2 separate regions of the Homo sapiens genome follow, and region 2 is linked to region 1. The links are contacts of gene promoters, found by promoter capture Hi-C in human tissues and cell types (Jung and others, 2019). All regions are on one chromosome and are shown on one strand. The core of a region is centred on a gene start or on the middle of the fragment in contact, and the rest is flanking DNA. Distances in the headings are between cores, read along the strand shown.

Region 1 (6,971 bases), core at 1,747-4,246:
GCAGAGCATGCTGCCTCCGGGCTGCACAGAACACCACGGAGTAGCAGGCAATCATGACAATCAGTGGAATGACGATGAAGGACACCACGCTGAGAATAGTGTAGCTGGGGCTGGCCCCCCAGATCATGGAGCAGAGAGCATTGCGCTCATCAAAGGCAGCCTGGCCCCAGCCGTAGAGTGGAGGAGTGCTCTGCAGGATGGCCACAATCCAGGTGCCATAGAGGAGCAGGTAACCGCGGCGCTGGGTCATCTTGGACGGGTAGGAGAGAGGGTGGATGATGGACAAGTAGCGATCCACTGACACCACGACAATGGTGTTGACGCTGGCGAAGGCGAACAGGTGGGTGAGGCTAACCAGGGCCGTGCAGAAGTGGCTGTTGAGGGGCCAGAAGAGAGGCACAGAGGTGGCCACCACCCAGGGGGCCACGAGCGAAATCTGCAGCAGGTCGGTGACGAGGAGGTTAAAGATAAAACGGTTGGTCACCTGCAGCAGCTGCGGCTTGCGCTGCAACACTAGCGCCAGCACTATGTTGCCGACGAAAGAGGCGGCGAGGAAGATAACCAGCACGGTTGAGCGGATGATGCCGTGGGCCAGGCTGATGGGCATTTTGGAGAGGGGCATGCACGTGTGGCTGCTGTTACTCTCGCGCGTGCTGTTGGTGCAGGTGGACGTCATGGCAACAGCCAGAGGGCGTGAGACAGGTTGCAGGCTCAGTGCCGGCACCGGTGGGTGGCAAAGGGGTGCACAGACCGCACTCAGTGCCTATGCTGGTGACAAAAGAAACACGCAGGCAGAGTTAGTCACCCGTCAAGGGGAGAAGCCTCCGCGCCCAGCAAGGACGCTGCAGGACCCCCTACCCCGGGTTTCCGCACGGCTCCATCCCCAGTGCGGGCAGCTTCTATGGCTCCTTTCCGGACTCTCCAGATCTGTCTGCCTGTCTCTCTCCAGGGCTCTGATTTCCTCTCATCTGTTTCTCCTGCTGGCGCGTGCGTGCGTGCGCTTTCTCTGCTTGTCTCTCACACTGTCTCTGGCTCCGGGGAGTTTTGGTCGCTAGCGCTAGCGCATGCGCGTGCGCTCTCTGTTTCTGTCTGTTTACGACCGTCAGTTTCTGTCTCTTCTCCAGTGTCTCTCGCTAGCGCACTTTTTTTCTTTATCTCTCGGGTTGTGTGTCTGTATGTGTCTCACCGTTTCCTGATTCTTTCTCATCCTTGTCTCTCACTTATGTCTGTCTCTGTTTCTCCGTCTCTCGATAGCACGTGCACGCTGTCTCTTTCCTGTTACTCTCATTTATCTCTTCCACTCTGTTTGTCACTCAGTCTCTCTGTGTGTGTCTCTTTCGCTAGCGCACTTTCTCTGCAGGGCTTGCGCTCTCGCTCCCTATCTTTCTCACAGTCTTGCCCGTCTCTCCCTCAGTCTCTTTCTGATCCATTCTGTCTCTCTGTGTCTCTGCCTGTCACTGTGTCGCTCGCTAGTTCATGTGTGTCTCCGTCTTTCCCTAGTGCTCTCTTGTCTCTCCATTTCTCTCTCAGTCTATTTCCCCAGCAGTTCATCTTTGTGGGTCCCTAGCGCACCTGTTCAATGTCGTTCGCTGTGTCTCTGCCCGTCTCCGTGTCTCTCCAACTCTCTTGTTTCTGCGTCTCCCTCGGGTTCTCTGGGTGTCTCCTTCTGTCTCTCACTGGCACGTGTGCGCTTGCTCTGTCTTTCTCGGACCCTCTTGTCTCTGTGTCTCTCCGTGTGGTTTCTGTCTCTCCCTGCCTAAGTTCTCTCTGCATTACTCTGCCTCTCTCTCCATTGATCTCTAACACTCTACTGCTTGTCTCACCTGTCTCTCAAGCTATCTCTTTAGTGTGTGCACTCTCTCGTTGGTTTCTCTGTCCTTCACTTTCCTGTCACCCCAGGACTCTGGCTAAACACTTGCTTTGTATCTTTGAGTGTGTGCGCATCTCTATTTCTCTACATCTTTTTCCCATGGCCCCTCACCTTGGTTTTTCTCTGGCTGGATCTCTGTCTCTTTGGATCTCTGTCTCCCTGTGGACTTTATTTTGCCGTGGAAACCACCTGCCGCCCCGGCCACCGCGGGCTTTGGTTAAAAAACCCTTAGTTTATCAGCAGTGCAATGGAGACTGGAAAATGCAGAGAGGATGCCTATTGAGCTCCCCTACCCTCACCCTCCACAGCCCCATCCCCATTCCCAATTTGGCATCCTCTTTGCTTTCTCCGGATCTGCTTGGTGTCGGTGACAGCCGAGGGGAGTGGGAAAGGAGCTGGGGAGAAAGGCAAAAGAGGCAGGGGTGCAGGGTGGTGGAGAGAGTCAGAAAGGCAGGGCGAGAGAGACTGAGAGGCAGAGAGACAAAAAGGAAATGAGAGACAGCGAAAGAATGAGATACATACAGAGAGACAGAGAGAATGTGAGCAACAGAGAGGGAGAAAGAAAGAAAAAAGAAGAAATGGGAGCGTGAGAGTGAGAGAGAATGAGAGAGCAAGACAGACTGGGAGAGACGCAGACAGAAAAAGCAAAAAATAATAAGAAAAGAGAACAAGCAGAGGAAGAGGGAAAGGATGAGGAAAAAACGAGAGAATGGAGAGGAAGGGGGAAAAGAACGCACGAGAAAAAGTGAGAGAGAAAACGCGAGGGCGGGAGGATGGCTAGGGAAAGGCGAGAAGGGGCCGCACCGCGGGCCACCGCGCCTGGTAGCTCAGCAGCCGTCGGGACGCTTCAGAGGGGGCGTCGTGGGCTCCCAGGCTCGGGGCCCTGCCGGGTGCTGGGGGCCACGGAGCCCGGAGTAGGGCCGGGCTGCTTACCTGTTGCTGCTGCAGACGTGGCGTCGCGGGCGCCGCGTGCAGGTCCTTCGGGGCTCCTCGCGCTCGTCCCGGCCGCCTCTCGGGGCTCGGGCGGCTGCGAGCTGGCACGGGGCAGCGGGCGCTGCGGGCGCGGCAGGAGCGGGGCACAGCGTCTGTGCCCGCACGTCCGGCCAGCGCGCCGCGCTGCAAGCTCTGAGAGGCAGCGGGGGCGCGCGGCGTCTTAAGGCAGCGCGGTGCCCTCACCTTGCGGTGCCGCCCTCCCCTCGGCCCCCGCCTGCGCCCGTGACGCACGAGGCCGCCGCAGCCCAGGGAGCGGGGCTGGCAGGTGGGGGGCCGTGCACCAGACCCCACTCAGATTTTCTCACTCCGGGTTCCCACCCCTGGGGCCCCGAGTCCACCGAGAGCTCACAGACTGGGGATTGTCACCGGGGCTGATTTTCGTGCAAACCCCGTGCCTTCCTAGCCCCCTGATTTCGGGCCAGCTCCCAGGCACAGACCCTGCACTATCCTTCCGATTCTTCCAAATAGGAGGGCCCGGGACTCCCCTCGACTTCTGAAAACCCTCCAAAGTATGAATAGCCCCTGAGCCCGAGAAAGGAATCGTGACTTTAATGTCAACGATTTTCCACGAATTTCTCTAGCTCCCAGGAAGAGCTAAGCGGCAGTGCTTTCCCTGTGGGATTTGGAAGCATTTCATTTAAGACAAGCCACATAATTACCCACTATATTCTTTGATTGAAGTATGTCTGTCTGTAAGTCAGTCAGCATCTCTCCCTCTCTCCCTCTTTCTCCCCCTCTCTCTGCCAGGTACTGTGTTAAACTGTTTACACAGAGAATACCGCTGAATCTTTACCCCAGCCTTGTGAGATAAGTACCGCTATTATCTTCATTTTATAGAGACAGAAGCAGAAGCCAAGAAAGATTACCCTACTTGCCTAAGTTCAAGTAAATATTGCACACGTTCTATTAGCCAAGACATTCTGGTCTCTCCTAAACACATACTGGGTATTTGTTGTATATCAGGACTGAGGAGGCCCCCTCTTCCCTGCCCCCAGAAGGTAGGGAAGGTGACCCAGACCAGGGATCATTTGCATTAGATTTCCAAGGGATTAGGAGGTGTTTTCTAGGCAGGGCACAAGGGGAAATGTGTTCTGTAAAAAGAAGATGCATGGGGTAAAACTAGGGCTGCAAGAGAGACTTGAGTTCCAAAGGCTGGGAAAACAGGCTGCAGCATGGTGAGTGCCAGGAGGTTAGCTGGTTAAACTGGGTAGAGACAAATCCTGAGGGGTCTTGAATGCCAGTCTGCAGACTTCGGACTTTACCCTGAGATCCCTGGAGGTCGTCGGAGAGTCGTTTTATTATGAAAGACTTCAAGCATACACAAACGTAATGAGAATAATAAAATAATCCTCCATGTTCCTATTACCCAGCCTTCACAAGGGTAAATAATTTGCCATTCTTGTTCATTGGTGGGTTTTAGGTAGGGCGATATTCTAAAATCAGGGCTGGTGTTGGATGGAGAAAGCTGAAGGGAGGCTGTGGCAGGAGACAAAGAGGGTCTTGACAGGTCCAACAGAGCGGGGCAAGCAGAGACCTACAGAGAGGCAAATTGACAGGGAATAAGGGCAAGGAGGTGTTGGGGAGGGTCTAGAATGAGCACAGGGTTTGGAGTTGGTTGATGGGCTGGATGGAGATACCTCCTCCCCTTCTCGTCACCTGCCTCTGAGACAGGGAGATGAGACAGGTGTATAATCGGGCCTCAAGAATGCTCTTTGGATCTGGAGTCCTGCATTTGCTCTTAGATCATTTGTCCTTTTTCTGCTATGCCTGATTTTATCTCCCCAAGGTTGAATGGTAAAAACCTGGTCATTTTTCCTAGAGACAGTTTCCGTGATAATCACTCACAGTTATTATTAATTCCTAGCTTCGTGCTGGCCATGGTACAGAATCCTGGGTGGCATGCACTGTCAAGCGGTAGTTTGTTCAGACTCAATGATTTTACAATCACTTGGGAGGCAGTGAAGCTGCTAGAAGTGGCCAGAGACAAAGGCCAGTCTTTCTTGACCTTTCCTATTTTTATTGTGGTTGTGACCATGCCCGAGACTGCTAGGTTCCAGCAGGGGACCCTCTAGACACATGTTAAAGATTGGTGCCTCAGAGGGATGGGCTCATGGAGTCTGCAGCTGCACTTTTGGGCACGAAGGGGGATAATAGGGAGTGGAAGGGGTTGGGTGGGATGAGGCCTCTGCAACTGAGACAAGCCTGCCAGCCGGAGATAGGAAAAAAGCCAGAGAAGTGCTAGGAAATAAATACCAGCTATTTTTCTGTATAGGGAGATGTTTGAGGGTGGTTAATCCTCCGGTGTCTTCTCTTTCCCTCCAGATGTGAGCAGAGTAGGTATTCTTGGATTTCAAAGACATCCAAATATCAGTTCCCCAACTGGAAGTATGTGGTGGAGCTTTGGGGAATGTGGATTTGGCTTCCAGCCCTGCAGGCTCTGATTCTGATAGCCTTGAAGGAGCCCTTCAACTGACAAGCCTCATTACATTCTGGGGAGAGTCTTTGGGATGAAACAGGGAGACTTTGGGATGATGGCTTAAGAAGTCACCTAGTCCTTTTCCCTACCTTCATAATTCAGTAGCAGCAGAGGCACGATCAAGCTGATGATATTAATGGACCAGGACTAGAGGGCAAGAAGCTACCAACAAGAAAGGGCCCAAGGTCCCATTGACAATCACACGTTGCAACACTGGTCAGTAGTGTGCCGGCCTCAGGCTTGTTCACCTTGTCAGACTAATTGCCCCAATTGCTGTACCAATAGCTAGATGAGGGAAGTTGGGAAACCCAAGACTCAGCCAAGTATTAGTTCTAGTCATTCATTCTAGTAATAAACGGTGCAAGAGTCCTTGAGTGCCTACTTTATGCTTGCTGTCTTGTATTAAATCCTTGAGGAAGCTCTGCAAGTTAGGAAACAATACCGTATTTTCTGAAAGCATGACACAGTACATACCACTAGGAAATGGAAAAATGCTGAACATTTAACCATCATACCATGGCTAACAAGATACATCTTGATTTCAAAGATGCTAGAATGTGAAAAAAAATGTGCTTTAGAATCAATGTAAGACAGTATCATCCCTGTCTTTACAGAGGGGTTAAGTAACTTATCCAAGGTCACACAGCAAATAAGTTTTGGAGCTGAGAGTTAAAGCCTACTCTAACTCCAAAGCAGGGGCATTTCCTAGGCTACATCAAGGAAGAGTGCAGAGACAAGACAGAAGGGCTCCCAGACCCAGCTCAGATAAAATTTTTGAATCTAGGTGAAAGGGGACTAGGAGTTGCTAGAATTGTGAAAAGACAAGTGCATTTGCAGTGGTAATGGTTTCTTTTTGTAGGACAGACACATGGTTCCCATAGGTGGTAAAAAGACTAAATCAGTCAATCTAAGTTCTAAGTCACACTCCTTTTTGCTTAGCGAGTTCATAATAAGTCGATGGGGAAAAATATATGGTTTTGTTCTGGAGTGCCTACCCATGGGGGTGTTTTACATTTTTCAGTGTTATGTGTTACTCTGGAATTCACTTCAGGCCAACTCCTAGAAGCTGTGTTTGCAAAACTGAAACAAAATCAAGTACCACCTGGGTGTGAGCTAATATTGCACATTCTGTGGGTTTGGGCAGTACAGAAGTTCTGGATTTCAAAGCTATGTCTATCCAAATAAACTAATTTGGAAGAGAAAATCAGCAGAAAATAACTTGATGGATTAAAACTAGAGAGCAGAAGACTTGAATTCTAGCCCTAATTCTGTGGCTAACTTGCATGTAACTTTGGGAAGATCCCCTTCCTCTCTCTGATCTCACTTCTGTAATCCACCAAATGAATGTGTGTGTGTGTGGTGGGGCTAGGGGTTGGATGTTAGGTAGTCTCTAAGGATCCTGTCAGTCTATGACCTTTGATGCCATCTACTTTCTATCTGAGTGTTATTTTTAAAAACCCAAAACTAATCTGACCCAAATATTAAAAAAATTGAAAGCTGGACTCTGCTTCTGGCCATGAAAGAATAAGAGACAGGATTTACCCTTTTATCTTAAACAACTAAAAAAGTGGACAACATACATAAAATAATAGTTGTTAGACATTGGAAAATAGACAGTACAGCACAGTGATC
Region 2 (6,442 bases), core at 570-3,069, 60 kb before region 1:
TCACAAAATTCTCTTCCATTAGTCACCCCACCACACTTAACTCACAGATTACCTGTTGCTGCCAGTTTCTGAGCTTTTTGTGGATTCTGTAGTATAAATTGGGTTGGCTCTCAGCTTTCTCCACTGCCTGCAATAGTTTCTGGCTTCCTTTTATTGTTTCCTGCTATCTGCTCTCCTGTTCTCCCTGTCTGAAGATTGTTTAAAAAAACACTTTTTATAATTTTCCTGTGGTTTCAGAAGAAAGATTAAAGATATGTGTATTCAGTCAGCCATGTTAGCCTAGAATTCTCTATTTTCATGTTTATTTTTTCCACCTATAATAATAAATTGTTGTGATAGAACATTTAGAGATGCAGAAAGAGCATAAAGATTAAAATAATAATCCCCTACAGTCCCATCTTTTTGACTGAACTGGTGTTGACCTTCTGTTATGTTTCCAGTCTTTTTTTCTGTGCGTGTAAATTATGATGCCACATAATGTATACATTTTTTTCCAGCTTTATTCACTTAATGTGTCGTTAAATGTTAAGTCTCAATATTTTAGGTAATCATTGGAAATTCTCTGATGCCATTTTTAACAACCACAGGTATTCTCTTGTATTGATGATAATAATTCACCCTTATATAGTACTTAACTATATGTCAGATATTGTTCCAAATGCTATGCAAATACTAACATATTTAATCTTCCCATCAACACTATGAGGTAGATATTATTGTTGTTATCCCATTTTGCAGATGAGGAAATAAGGCACAGAGTAGTATAGTAACTTGCCCATGGTCATTCAGCTAGTAAGTGGTAGAGTCAGAATTCAGATTCGGCTGGGCGTGGTGGCTCACACCTGTAATCCCAGCAGTTTGGTAGGCCGAGGTGGGTGGATCAGGGATTGAGCCCAGAAGTTTCAAACCAGCCTGGGCAACGTGGCAAAACCCTGTTTTTACAAAAAATACAAAAAAATTAGCCGAGTGTGGTGGCATGCGCCTATAGTCTCAGCTACTTGAGAGGCTGAGGCAAGACAGTCGCTTGAGCACAGGATGGGGAGGTTGCAGTGAGCTGAGACTGCGCCACTGCACTCCAGCCTGTGCGTAAGAGTGAGACCTTGTCTCAAATAAATAAATAAGAATTCAAATTTAAGCAGTCTGGCTTGAGTGTCTATTCTCTTAATCATGATACCAGACAATGCTTCTATATTTGTGCAATCATTTATTTTTTATGCATTGTTAGAAAATTTAGGTTGTTTGTATTTTACATTAATTATAGATTATGCGTGGACAAGTGTCTTTTTGTGTCAGGTTTTGTGCACTTCAGTTTATTTGCTATTGTCCTTCTACATCCTTTCATGTTCCTGTCCCATATCTCTTCCTTTCTAATCATCTCTCTTTATTTTTATGACCCATTCCTCTTAATACTGGCAGTTTGGATCTCTCTTTTGAAAAGCATTCCTGAAAGTTGACAGATGACCTTTCTTCTTGTCAAATTCATTGCATTCATTCCTAGTCTCCTTGATCAGTCTGTAACACTTGACAGACTATTAGTTACACTCATTTTTTTTTCTTTTGAGATGGAGTTTTGCTCTTGTTGCCCAGGCTGGAGTGCAATGGTGGGATTTTGGTTCACTGCAATCTCCGCCTCTCAGGTTCAAGAGATTCTCCTGCCTCAGTCTCCCGAGTAGCTGGGATTACAGGCATGCGCCACCACGCCCGGCTAATTTTGTATTTTTAGTAGAGATGAGGTTTCACCATGTTGATCAGGCTGGTCTTGAACTCCTGACCTCAGGTGATCTGCCTGCCTCGGCTTCCCAAAGTGCTGGGATTATAGGCGTGAGCCACCGTGCCTGGCCAGCTACACTTATCTTTATGAAAAGTTCTTCTCTTTCACTATTCTTGTCATTGTAGGCTTCTAGTTCTTTCACCTCTTTTTTCCTTCTCTTAACTCCCTTCTGTCATCCTCCTATCAAATGTGAACCTTCTTCCTAGTTATATCCTCACCTGTGGGTTCTTCTTTCCTTCCTCTCCCTCTCTTTCTCCTTCTCTTCCTCCACCTTCTTCCTCTCTCCTCTTCCTCTTTTTCTTGATTTCTGCATTCTCTCTCCTTGAGTGATGGCATCCATTTTCATAATCAGTTTCAAGTACTATGTCTTTATAACTGAATTTATTTATTTCTATTTGTCAAACAAGTTCTCTCACATGAAGTTCTTGTTTTTGTTTATATTATCACCACTGTTTTGGTCACGTAGGCTAAAAACCGTATTCATTCTTAGTTTTACCCTTACTCTTTATTCTTCTAAAACATTTATATATCATTCACATACCATAAAATTCACCCTTGAAAAGCCTACAATTCACTGGTTTTCAGTATAGTCACAAAGTTATGAAACTGTCACCAGTATCCTAATTCCAGAACATTTCATGACCCTCAAAAGAAACCCTGTTCATGAGAACACATGGACACAGGAAAAGGAACAACACACACTTGGGCCTGTTGGGGGATGGGGTTGGGGGAGGGAGAGCATTAGGAAAAATAGCTAATGCATGCTGGGTTTAATACCTAGGTGATGGGCTGATAGGTGCATCAAACCACCATGGCACATGTTTACTTATGTAACAAACCTGCACATATACCCTGGAACTTTAAATAAAAATAAAAAAAGAAACCCTGTTCTTATTAGCAGACACTCCCCGTTTTCCCATCCCCTTGGCTGTGAATTTACTAATCTATTTTCTATCTCTATGGACTTGCCTATTCTGGGCACTTAATATAAATGAATCATGAAGCATGTGATATTTTGTGTCTGACTTCTTTCACTTAGGTAATGTTTTCAAAGTTCATTCATATTGTAGCATGTATCAGTACTTCATTCCTTTTTATGATTGAATAATATTCCTTTGTTTGGATGTACCACCTTTTGTTTGATGGACATCTGGGCTATTTTTACCTTTTGGATATTTTGAATTATACTGCTATAAACATTTTTTTTTTTGAGACGGAATCTCGCTCTGTTGCCTAGGCTGGAGTGCTGTGGTGCAACCTCTGCCTCCTGGGTTCAAGTGATTCTCCTGCCTCAGCCTCCTGAATAGCTGGGACTATAGGCACATGCCATCATGTCTGGCTAATTTTTGTATTTTTAGTAGAGACAGGGTTCACTGTGTTGGCCAGGCTGGTCTCAAACTCCTGACCTTGTGATCTGCCCACCTTGTCCTCTCAAAGTGCTGGTGTTACAGGAGTGAGCCACCGCGCCCAGCCTATAAACATTTTTGTACAATGTTTTGAGTGAATATATGCTTTCAGTTCTACTGTATGTATACCTATGAGTGAAATCACTGGGTCATATGGTAGCTTTATGTTTATTATTTTGAGAAACTGTCAGCCTGTTTTCAAACCTGGCTGCACCATTTACATCCCTATCAGTAATGTATTAGGGTTCCAGTTTCTTCGTACCCTCACCAACACTTGTTACTATCCTTTCTTTTATTTCTTTCTTTTTTTTATTATAGCCACCTAGTGGGTGTGAAGTGTTATTTTAGTTTTTTAAAAAATTTAGAAATTTATTCTGTTTAATCCACAAGCTTTATATAGCTTTAGTTTAAAAAAAAAAAACGAAAAAACATCAAAACAAAAACAGTGAAACCAAGACACTATTCCAAAGTCTGGACCCTTCCAGCCTTCCAAATACAAGAGCTCTGAAAGTTGTATATACCGATTGGAAGAACAAGAGAAAAATATGAACAGAGCCATGACATTTCATTAAACAAAATTGTATGTAACTGAAGGATCCTTCCTGGGACTAGCTCATTGCCTTTACAAAAGATAAAACAAAAACAGAAAACCAGAAGAATAAAATGAGAGTCCAGTGTTCCAAATCAACTAGATACACATCAATATAAATCCACAGTGTCCTGGCAAACAGCATGCTTTCATTTTCTGTCTCATCCTAGAGCTCGAATCCTGATTCATCTCAGCAGAGACTCCACAGGCAACAGGAAAGATTATGGCATTGAAATACTCATTTATACTTTTATGGTAGTTCAAAATGGTGGTCTTATTTCTGGGCAAGCTTACAGACCATACAAGGTCAGAAGCATAACTTAAACGGGTGCTAAGACTCAAATGAAAAAAATGTAAAGAAAAAGAAAAACAGAAAACCAAAACCAAACCAAACAAAAAAAAAACCCTCTGGGAATAGCCAGGGCATTTAAAGGAACCATAAAAATGCTAATAGTATTTAAACCTCCCTTTTTAAAAAGGGGATTTTTTTTGGCTTAAAATATTTCACTCTGAATGAATTATGTCAACTGTCAATGAAAGAATGTTGCTAATACAGTGTGGACAACTTTTGCAATGTAAATCCATGCCCCTTGTTTTTACATGGTGAACTTCAACCTAGCAATTATTACAACAAATGTTAGAGTCTAAAGCTCAAACACATTTTAGCAATTTTGAAATTGAACTGCCTACAAACCAAATAAAATTTACATCACAACAAACATTTCCGCCTGACTGTGGGGACACTTGGGCCTTCCTCATTGATCTCAGGACCTTTTCACACAGGTGCTTTTCTTTTTTATTTTTATTTTTCGGAGACGGAGTCTCACTCTTGCCCAGGCTGGAGGGCAGTGGCGCGATCTCAGCTTACTGCAACCTCCGCCTCCTGGATTCACACCATTCTCCTGCCTCAGCCTCCCAAGTAGCTGGGACTACAGGTGCCCGCCACCACGCCTGGCTAATTTTTTTGTATTTTTAGTAGAGATGGGGCTTCACTGTGTTAGCCAGGATGGTGTCGATCTCCTGACCTCGTGATCCACCCGCCTCGGCCTCCCAAAGTACTGGGATTACAGGCATGAGCCACCGTGCCTGGCCAACGCAGGTGCTTTTCTAAGTCATGAAGGTTATCTTCAGCTTCACTTTCAGTATCCTCCTTCGGCTCTGGCGCTGCCACTGGTTCTTCCTGTGATAATGTGGTTGTGGCAGCTGCAGTGGCTGCAGGGGTCGCAGTGGCTGCAGCCACAGCCTTTTCCTTGTGTTTTTTGTGCTGCTTGTGCTTATCCTTTTGGTGTTTCTTGTCCTTTTTTTTTTAAATATATGATGCAATTTTATTACCATTTTTTCTATATAAGTGACACAAAATTTAGACCGATAAAAACAATTTCTTCCATGAAATTTCAACAGCTGAGCTGTGTTGGGAAGAGCTAAACTGCTTGATGTCGGAGTTTTTTTTTTTTAATTATTTAAGTTCTAGGGTACATGTGCACAACGTGCAGATTTGTTACATATGTATACATGTGCCATGTTGGTGTGCTGCACCCATTAACTCGTCATTTACATTAGGTATATCTCCTAATGCTATCCCTCCCCCCTCCCCCCACCCCACAACAGGCCCTGGTGTGTGATGTTCCCCACCCTGTGTCCAAGTGTTCTCATTGTTCAATTCCCACCTATGAGTGAGAACATGCGGTGTTTGGTTTTTTGTCCTTGCGATAGTTTGCTGAGAATTATGGTTTCCAGCTTCATCCATGTCCCTGCAAAGGACATGAACTCATCATTTTTTATGGCTGCATAGTATTCCATGGTGTATATGTGCCACATTTTCTTAATCTAGCCTATCACTGTTGGACATTTGGGTTGGTTCCAGGTTTTTGCTATTGTGAATAGTGCTGCAATAAACATACGTGTGCATGTGTTTTTATAGCAGCATGATATATAATCCTTTGGGTATATACCCAGTAATGGGATGGCTGGGTCAAATGGTATTTCTAGATCCCTGAGGAATCGCCACACTGTCTTCCACAATGGTTGAACTAGTTTATAGTCCCACCAACAGTGTAAAAGTGTTCCTATTTCTCCACATCCTCTCCAGCACCTGTTGTTTCCTGACTTTTTAATGATTGCCATTCTAACTGGTGTGAGATGGTATCTCATTGTGGTTTTGATTTGCATTTCTCTGATGGCCAGTGGTGATGAGCATTTTTTCATGTGTCTGTTGGCTGCATAAATGTCTTCTTTTGAGAAGTGTCTGTTCATATCCTTCGCCCACTTGTTGATGGGGTTGTTTTTTTTTTTTTTTTTTTTTTTGAAATTTGTTTGAATTCTTTGTAGATTCTGGCTATTAGCCCTCTGTCAGACGAATAGATTGCAAAAATTTTCTCCCATTCTGTAGGTTGCCTGTCACACTGATGGTAGTTTCTTTTGCTGTGCAGAAGCTCTTTAGTTGAATTAGATCCCATTTGTCAATTTTGGCTTTTGTTGCCATTGCTTTTGGTGTTTTAGACATGAAGTCCTTGCCCATGCCTATGTCCTGAATGGTATTGCCTAGGTTTTCTTCTAGGGTTTTTATGGTTTTAGGTCTAACATTTAAGTGTTTAATCCATCTTGAATTAATTTTTGTATAAGGTGTAAGGAAGGGATCCAGTTTCAGCTTTCTACATATGGCTAGCCAGTTTTCCC

Evidence for each region. The method cuts DNA at HindIII sites, captures the fragments that hold promoters and counts their contacts. A contact is called where the count stands out against the background at its distance.
Region 2: a contact is called between a fragment that was not itself captured here and the fragment with the promoter of GPR101 in region 1, in 1 of the 25 tissues and cell types used here (hippocampus).

What each region holds. Positions count from the first base shown.
Region 1 is chrX:137,030,999-137,037,969 of GRCh38, forward strand. It overlaps GPR101 (G protein-coupled receptor 101), which reads right to left and starts at 2,997. Exons shown (of 2, transcript NM_054021.2): 1 at 2,804-2,997; 2 at 1-768. The coding sequence starts at 676. RefSeq lists enhancers at 9-553, 554-1,097. The HindIII fragment of the contact is 13,638 bases long and covers 1-6,971 here.
Region 2 is chrX:136,971,922-136,978,363 of GRCh38, forward strand. It overlaps the pseudogene TM9SF5P. Among named protein-coding and RNA genes, the nearest start is that of GPR101, 59 kb to the right of the region's middle. The HindIII fragment of the contact is 3,984 bases long and covers 1-3,811 here.